Regions from separate parts of the Homo sapiens genome. Here region 2 is linked to region 1. The links are contacts of gene promoters, found by promoter capture Hi-C in human tissues and cell types (Jung and others, 2019). All regions are on one chromosome and are shown on one strand. The core of a region is centred on a gene start or on the middle of the fragment in contact, and the rest is flanking DNA. Distances in the headings are between cores, read along the strand shown. Region 1 holds the start of CIB3 (calcium and integrin binding family member 3). Region 2 holds the start of RASAL3 (RAS protein activator like 3).

Region 1 (4,440 bases), core at 597-3,096:
TGGGTGACAGAGTGAGACCCTGTCTCAAAAAAAAAAAAAAGTCATCCTTGAGGCATCTTTCAAGCCTGATCAGGGTCACATTTTACAAGATGACTGCACAGATTTGGCAGAGGATGCTTGATGAGGCCGAGGCAGGAAAGCCTGCTGGGAAACATTGCAATAGTCCAGGCCAGGTAGAGAAAACACAGGTGAGACCCAAAGTGAGAAGGGCATGGAGGGCCAGGCTAAGAAATTTAGACTCTCAGATTCTCCACCCAAGAGGATTCTGGGCCTTAATAAAGTTGGTAGCTGCTACATTAGATCTGCCCTTTGGGCCGGGCGAGGTGGCTCACACATGTAATTCCAGCACTTTGGGAGGCCGAGGCGGGTGGATCACCTGAGGTCAGGAGTTCGAGACCAGCCTGGCCAACATAGTGAAACTCTGTCTCTACTAAAAATACAAAACTTAGCCAGGCGTGGTGGTGGGCGCCTGTAATAATCCCAGCTACTCGGGAGGCTGAGGCAGGAGAATGGCCTGAACTCGGGAGGTGGAGCTTGCAGTGAGCCGAGATCACGCCACTGCACCCTAGACTGGGTGACAGAGCGAGACTCCGTCTCAAAAAAAAAAAATACAAAAAAAATTAGCTTGGCATGGTGGACACCTGTGGTCCCAGCTACCTGGGATGCTGAGGCAGGAGAATCACTTGAACCTGGGAGGCAGAGATTGCAGTGAACCGAGATCACACCACTGCACTCCAGCCTGGGCAACAGAGTGAGACTGTCTCAAAAAAATAAAATGTAATAAAATAATAATGTCAATGCACACCCCAGAACTTCATCTAGCTTGTTCACCATTATGTTCCCAATGCAGTGATGCAATCATGGCTCACTGCAGCCTCAAACTCCTGGGCTCAAGCAATCCTCCCACCTCAGCCTCCTGAGTAGCTGGGACCACAGGCATGCACCACCACATCCAGCTAATTTTTGTATTTTTAGTAGAGATAGGGCCTTGCCATGCTGCCCAAGCTGATCTTGAACTCCTGGCCTCAAGTGAATCTCATGCTTTGTCCTCCTAAAGTGCTGGGATTACAGGTATGAGCCACCTCGCCCAGCCAAAACCTTTTTTTTTTTTTTGGAGATGGAGTCTTACTCTGTCACCCAGTCTGGAGTGCAATGGCGGGATCTCGGCTCACTGCAACCTCCACCTCCTGGGTTCAAGCAATTCTCCTGCCTCAGTCTCTGGAGTAGCTGGGATTACAGGCATGTGTCACAATGCCAAGCTAATTTTTGTATTTTTAGTAGAGATGGGGTTTTGCCGTGTTGGCCAGGCTGGTCTTGAACTCCTGACCTCAGGTGATCCGCCTGCCTGGCCCTCCCAAAGTGCTGGGATTACAGGTGTGAGCCACCTTGCCCAGTCAAAACCTTTTTTTTTTTTTTTTAAATCTCAGATCCTGAGAATGACCCTATGAGGTAGGTATAATGTAATTTTCATCTCATGAATGAGGTTCAGAGAAGTCAGGTGACTTGCCCAGGGCCACACAGCTAGTGGGCAGAGAGCTGGGATTTGAGCTGCAGTGTGCCCATAGCCCTTCTGTATACCCTGCCTGTCTCTTGAGTGTGCCCCATAACCCCAGCCTCACCTTGTGGTGGCAGATGTGGCCTCCCCACTGAGGTCTTCTCTGTGACATCCCACAGCCCTTATCCTTACCCATGGACACATTCAGGCTGTTGTCCAGAGAGCCTGGCTGTAATTTGAGTCTCATCAAGCAGGGGGTGATGGCGTAGGTGGGTGGGTGACAGCCAGGGCAGGGAGATTTGCCCAGACACTGGTACACAACAGCCTGGCAACCCGTGTGGCCCCGAGGAAGCTGGGAGCCTTTGGGGTGCATCCCCAAGTCTGGGCTGTGGTTCACACCATGGGCAACAAGCAGACAGTCTTCACACACGAGCAGCTGGAAGCGTATCAGGTAGAGGGGGGCAGGATGGGTCCTCAGTGGGTTTGACAACTTTGGTTCCGTGGTCTGGGAAATGGGAACAGAATGCCTTCATCTGGGTGTACCGTCCGCCTGGGTTCCTGGTTCTGCTCTGTGTGTGGCAGCATCAGGCCATCTGTGTGAGTGTGGGGTGGAGGGAGGAGGCCGTGGGAGGAGGCCCCAGAGGCAGGGTTCGGGTTAAGACAACACCTCTCTCCACAGGACTGCACATTTTTCACAAGGAAGGAGATCATGAGGTCAGTCCAGGGAGGAAGGGAGAGAAGATCTGGAAAAACAACTTTCTATTCATTGCTGGAGGATATTTGCAATTTGGTGTGTGTGTGTGTGTGTGTGTGTGTGTGTGTGTGTGTGTGTGTAAGTAGTCTTTCTTTCTTTCTTTCTCTTTTCTCTCTCTCTCTCCCTCCCTCCCTCCCTTCCTTCCTTCCTTCCTTCTTTTCTTTTTTTTTGAGACAGGGTCTGTCTCTATTGCCTGGGCTGGAGTGCAGTGGTGCAATCATGGCTCATTGCAGGCTCGATCTCCCAAGGTCAGGTGATCCTCCCACCTCAGCCTCTCGAGTAGCTAGGACCACTGGTGCGAGCCACCACATGTACCTCATTTTTGTATTTTTTTATAGAGATGGGGCTCTCACTATGTTGCCCAGGCTGGTCTTAAACCCTTGGGCTCAAGCGATCCCCCTGCCTCAGCCTCCCAAAGTGCTGGGATTACAGGTGTGAGCCACCATGCCCAACTGGTATTTCCAATTTGTTGGGACTCAAATGGGGAAGGGGGGCAGGTGTGGTCAGTGGACAGAGGCAGAGATGGAGAAGCTGACAAGTCACATCTTGTCATACTGTCCCAGTCTCTAGGCTGATGAGCTTGGGCTTTCTCCCAAGGGTGGCAGGGAGCTATGGAGCATGCATGAGCAGGGGAGAGACCATCAGCACGTTAGAAAGATTCTCCTGAGGCTGGGCGCGGTGGCTCATGCCTGTAATCCCAGCACTTTGGGAGGACAAGGTGGGTGGATCACCTGAGGTCAGGAGTTTAAGATCAGCCTGGCCAACATGGTGAAACCCCATCTCTGCTAATAATACAAAAATCAGCTGGGCGAGGTGGTGGGTGCCTGTAATCCCAGCTACTCAAGAGGCTGAGGCAGGAGAATTGCTTGAACCTGGGAGGTGGAGGTTGCAGTGAGCCGAGATCACGCCACTGTGCTCCAGCCTGGGTGACAGAGCTAGACTCTGCCTCAGAAAAACAAAATGAAAGATAAAGATTCTCCTGAGACTGGGACTTGAGGCTGGGAGCCCAGGTGCAAAGTCCAGAGCCCAGTCTGGGTTGTGGGCTTGGCATTAAGATGAGGGTGTGAGGAGGTGGCCCAAGGCTGCTGCAGGTCCCTGGCGTGACCCAGCACGATGGGCACAGATGAGTATCCCACATCATCACTCGGCCTGTGGGGCCATTGCCCAGGGGCCCCGACCCATGAACTTGGAGCTATGAAACCCAAGCTGGCCAGGGTTCAGCTGCAGTGTGATCGGGGCCAAGGCCCCAGTTGTGTAGTAACAGGACATCCATTATTGATGGCCACACCTTTTACTAGTGAGCCCCATTGTTTGGGTGAGGACAGCTTGCAGGGTCACCTCGGCCATCACGATCAAATTACTGATGGGGAAACTGAGGCTCAGACAGGGCGGGGCTGATCCCAGGCTGAAGGGTAAATGCACAGAGCCCCAAGGCCCCAAGGACAGACATTTTGTCTGTCCCAAGCTTCTTGCTTATCAGATAGAATAACCAAGGCACAGAGAGGGAGAGGAGAGGAACATGCTCAGAGCCACACAGAAACCTAAACCCAGGGTATTCCCTGATGGGACCCCGACAGGGAACTGAGTGGTCAGGATGAAAGTTCTAGGTCTCCCCACCCCACCTTCATTGAGTTCCTAGTCATCATATGACCTAGGGACTCATGTCTCTCTCAGAGACAGTCCCTAGCAGCTTGGGGACCTCAGACCCACCAAGGATGGTCTCTGCAAGGCTGCTGCTCAGCATGCCCTAATGAAGGTATGGTGTCACAGGTGAGGGCTTCTGAGTGGAGAACTGGCCTTATAATCTGGATAGTGTGTGTGGTATTCAGTTATTTGCAAAATATCTTTTGTCTGCCCTTTAGAAAAAATGTGACTATTAGCTGTTTGTCTCTGCTCTGCCCCATTGAGGAATCCCTCCTTTTTTTTCTTTCTTTCTTCTTTTCTTTCTTTCTTTTTTATTTTTTATTTATTTATTTTTTTTATTGAGACCGAGTCTCATTCTGTTGCCCAGGCTGGAGTGCACTGGCTTGATCTCGGTTCACTGCATGCTGCGCCTCCCGGGTTCACACCATTGTCCTGCCTCAGCCTCCGGAGTAGCTGGGACTACAGGCGCCCACCACCACGCCTGGCTAAATTTTTATATTTTTAGTGGAGACGGGGTTTCACCATGTTAGCCAGGATGGTCTTGATC
Region 2 (4,440 bases), core at 641-3,140, 710 kb after region 1:
AGGATCGCTTGAGCCCAGGAGGTTGAGAATGCAGTGAGCTGTGATTGTGCCACTGCACTCCAGCTTGGCCAACAGAGCAAGACCCTGTCTCAAAAAAAAATCTTATTAAAAAAAAAAGAACATGCTAAATTTGTGTTATATGAATTTTACCTCAATTAAAAAAAAAATAGGCCAGGCATGGTAGCATGTGCCTATTATCCCAGCTACTTAGGGGGCTGAGGTGGGAGGATCACTTGAGGCCAGGAGTTCAAGAACAGCCTGGGCAACAAAGCAAGACCCTCATCTCAACAACAACAAAAAAATTGTTTTTAATAAGCCAGGTGTGGTGGCATGCAGCTGTAGTCCCAGCTACTCAGGAGGCTAAGGCGAGAGGATCTCTTGAGCCCAGGAGTTAGAGGTTACAGAGAGCTATGATGGCACCACTGCACTCCAGCCTGGATGACAGACCTCATCTACAAAAAATAATAATATTCATATTATGTATAATGTAATATTATTTATATTACTATGTAATATAAATATTATATTTTTATTTTATGAGATCTATATTATTTTTATAGACCTCATTTATAAATAATAATAATAATAAGGGCCGGGCACGGTGGCTTACGCCTATAATACCAGCACTTTGGGAGGCCAAGGCGGGCAGATCATTTCAGGTCAGGAGTTCAAGACCAGCCTGACCAACATGGTGAAACCCCGTCTCTACTAAAAATACAAAAAAATTAGGCAGGCATGGTGGTGAATACCTGTAGTCCCAGCTACTCAGGAGGCTGAGTAGGGAGAATCACTTGAATCCGGGAGGCAGAGATTGCAGTGAGCCAAGATCGTGCCACTGCACACCAGCCTGGGAGACAGAGCGAAACTCCTTCTCGATAAATAAATCAATTAATAATAATAAGAGTAATAATAAATCTTGCCATCTTCCAGAAGCCCCCCTTGTACCCTCTTCCCAGCCACCAGTGCCTCCAAAAGAAACTGATACCCTGCTTGTTAGACATGGTTTTGCCTGCTTTAGGACTTTATGTAAATGGAATCACAAAGTGTATACTCTTCATTGTTTTGGGGTTTTTAAATTTATTTATTATTGCTTTTTAGAGATGGGGTCTCCCGAGGGCAGGGAGGGGAAAAAGAAAAAAAAAAGTTAGATATGAGGTCTCCCTATGTCACCCAGACTGGAGTGCACTGCCTATTCACAGGCATGATCACAGCTCACTGCAGCCTCGAACTCCTGGCCTCAAGCGATCCTCCTCCCTCAGCCTCCTGAATAGCTCAGATTACTGGCATTTTATGGCTTTGGTTTTGGTTTTGGCTCAACATTGTTTGTGATTCACCCAAGTTAAATCATTCTTTAGTTTGTTCTCACTGCTGTATGATATTCTGCTGTGCGAAGAGATCACAATTTATTCCTTCTCCCACTAATGGGTACTTAGGCTGCTTCCAATGTGGGGCTATTATGCATTGTGCTGGGGGGGCATATCTATTGGACGTCTACCTAGCAATGGAATTGCTGAGTCAGAGAAGATCCAGCTAGTAGTGTTAGTAGATCCTGCCAAACCGTTTCCCAACATGAGTGAATGGGTCTACACTCCGGCCAACTGTGGATTAGAGTTCTAGGTGCTTTGTATTCTCGCCAGCATTTGTTCAGCCTGTACTCATTTTGCAGAGAAGGCAACGGAGGCTCAGAGAGAGGGGCAAGTGCTGCCTCCCCGTCAGGGAGGCAGTCTGGGTCCTTCTTGCTAGAAGCCTGGTAACCCACCTCCTCTCTTCTCCTCCCTCGAACCTCCAGCAACCTGCCCGCACTGTGCCCTCCCAGCCTGGCTGTGGGGTGGGGTGGGACAGAGAGGGTCACGTGGAGTTGGGTTCCGAGGGAGGAAGCCAGGCGGGGTGCAGACGGCTGCTGATTCTGGGGCTGGTCAGGAAACCAAGGTAAGGGAGGGAGTGGAGGTGGGGGCAGGGGGATTCCTGGAGGCAGAGCTGAGGGTGGGGAGGGGGCCGAGATGAGGGCAGTATGTGGACAGACACTGGGCACTACTGTCACTCTCTCGTCCCCCAGGAGACCCCCCCCCCCAACCATGGACCCACCGTCGCCAAGCCGGACCTCCCAAACCCAGCCCACAGCCACCTCTCCGCTGACTTCCTACCGCTGGCACACAGGGGGCGGTGGGGAGAAGGCGGCTGGAGGGTTCCGCTGGGGCCGCTTTGCTGGCTGGGGCAGGGCCCTGAGCCACCAGGAGCCCATGGTCAGCACCCAGCCAGCCCCTCGCTCGATATTCCGTCGGGTCCTATCTGCGCCTCCCAAGGAGTCACGGACCAGTCGCCTTCGACTCTCCAAGGCCCTCTGGGGGAGGCATAAGAACCCACCGCCGGAGCCAGACCCGGAGCCGGAGCAGGAGGCCCCAGGTACATGGTTCCCCCACCCTGAGCTTGGGCCGGGCTGGGAAGCCGGATGCTTGGGTTTTGTCTGCCTCCGGAGCATCAACCATACAGACACAGGAAGTTGTGGGGAGTGCAAAAGCCCAGCAGGAAGCCGCTGGGGCCCAGCTACCCTGTTCCCTCTTTCCCCCTAAAGAGGGTAGGAGGAGTTGCCGGGGTCCTGTGGGCAGAGGGTCCATCTGAGGAAGGAACAGTGAATGTAAACCCGTGATAGTATTGTCCAGAGGCTAAACGGCTCTTGGCCCCAACGGGTCTCTCCTTCAATGGCTCAGGCCCATCCTTTCCTACCTGGATATCCATCTTCAGCCTGCCTCCTACTCTCCTACCTTCTAGCTTCCGTGTCTTTGTTCTGAGCCCTTAAGCCTCAGCCTCTCCATCAGTTCAGTGAGAATAATGATCTCCATTTTGGAGAGTATATAATTTTATTTGCTCATATTCATTCATTTATTCAAGCAGAGGTTTGTTGAGCTTCTATTGTATGTGCCAGGCCCTGATTTAGGCACTGAGGACACACTAGTGAAAGAGACAGATGACCCTCCCTGCCCCATGGAGCTCACAGTGTAGTGGAATTGACAGGAAATCCATCAACAAGAAAATGACAGATGGGCCAGGCATGATGGCTCACACCTGTAATCCCAGCACTTTGGGAGGCCAAGGTGGGTGGATCACCTGAGCTCAGGAGTTCGAGACCAGCCTGGCCAACATGGCAAAACCCTGTTTCTACTAAAAATACAAAAAAAAAAAAGTATCTAGGCATGGTGGCACATACCTGTACTCCCAGCTACTCAGGAGGCTGAGGCAGGATAATCGCTTGAACCCGGGAGGTGGAGGTTGCAGTGAGCTGAGATTGCACTACTGCACTCCCGCCTGGGCGACAGAGGGAGACTCCATCTCAATGGAAGAAAAAAAAAAAAAAGAAAGAAAAAAAATGACAGATGGTGCTAAGTGTCACACAGGGGGATCTAGAAGAGTAATGGATATCACAAGAATTAGGGCTCAGGAATGTAACACTAGCCTAGGGCCCAGCATTTTTTTTATTTTTTTTTTGAGATGGAGTCTCGCTCTGTTGCCCAGGCTGGAGTGCAGTGGCGCGATCTCGGCTCACCGCAAGCTCCGCCTCCTGGGTTCACGCCATTCTCCTGCCTCAGCCTCCTGAGCAGCTGGGACTACAGGAACCCGCCACCATGCCCAGCTAATTGTTGTATTTCTAGTAGAGACAGGGTTTCACTGTGTTAACCAGAATGGTCTCGATCTCCTGACCTCATGATCCGCCCGCCTCAGCCTCCCAAAGTGCTGGGATTACAGGCGTGAGCCACCGCGCCCGGCCCCAGGCCCAACATATTTTAAGTGATCCGTTAATAAGCGGGAGTTATCATTTATTGCTCCTGGTGGTAAAAACAAGGGAACAGACAGGCAATCTGGGAGGGCTAATTCAGCCCTCCTATTTCCTGGAAGCTCATTTAATTCTCACTGCTTATATTCCCATTTTGTTTTTGTTTTTGTTTTTGTTTTGAGACACAGTCTCACTTCCTTGCCCAGGCTGGAGTGCAGTGGCGGAATCTCAGCTCACTGCAACCTCTGCCTCCCAAGTTCAAGAGATTCTCCTGCCTCAGCCTCCTGAGTAACTGGGATTACAGGCATGTGCCACCACGCCTGGCTAATTTTGTATTTTTAGTAGAGACGGGGTTTCTCCATGTTGGTCAGGCTGGTTTTGAACTCCCAGCCTCAGATGATCCACCCGCCTAGGCCTCCCAAAGTGCTAGGATTACAGGTGTGAGCCACAGAGCCCAGGCACATCAGGCTATTTTTTAAAGACAGGGTCTTGTTATGTTGCCCAGGCTGGTCTCAAACTCCTGGTCTCAAGCAATCTGCCCCACCTCGGCCTCCCAAATGTTGGGATTACAGGCATGAGCCACCTTGCCCAGCCCCTGTCCTGTTTTTTAACCTCTTGGACCCACATAATGTCTTGGTTAAGAGAAGAATGCAAAAAAAACAAAAAAACAA

What was found. The method cuts DNA at HindIII sites, captures the fragments that hold promoters and counts their contacts. A contact is called where the count stands out against the background at its distance.
Region 2: the fragment with the promoter of RASAL3 here is called in contact with the fragment with the promoter of CIB3 in region 1 in 3 of the 25 tissues and cell types used here (dorsolateral prefrontal cortex, mesendoderm cells and thymus).

The regions. Positions count from the first base shown.
Region 1 is chr19:16,170,931-16,175,370 of GRCh38, reverse strand. It overlaps CIB3 (calcium and integrin binding family member 3), which reads left to right and starts at 1,846. Exons shown (of 6, transcript NM_054113.4): 1 at 1,846-1,946; 2 at 2,175-2,209. The coding sequence starts at 1,896. The HindIII fragment of the contact is 31,728 bases long and covers 1-4,440 here.
Region 2 is chr19:15,461,994-15,466,433 of GRCh38, reverse strand. It overlaps RASAL3 (RAS protein activator like 3), which reads left to right and starts at 1,890. Exons shown (of 18, transcript NM_022904.3): 1 at 1,890-1,929; 2 at 2,057-2,403. The coding sequence starts at 2,076. RefSeq lists enhancers at 1,547-1,656, 2,297-2,426, 2,527-2,666. The HindIII fragment of the contact is 13,394 bases long and covers 1-4,440 here.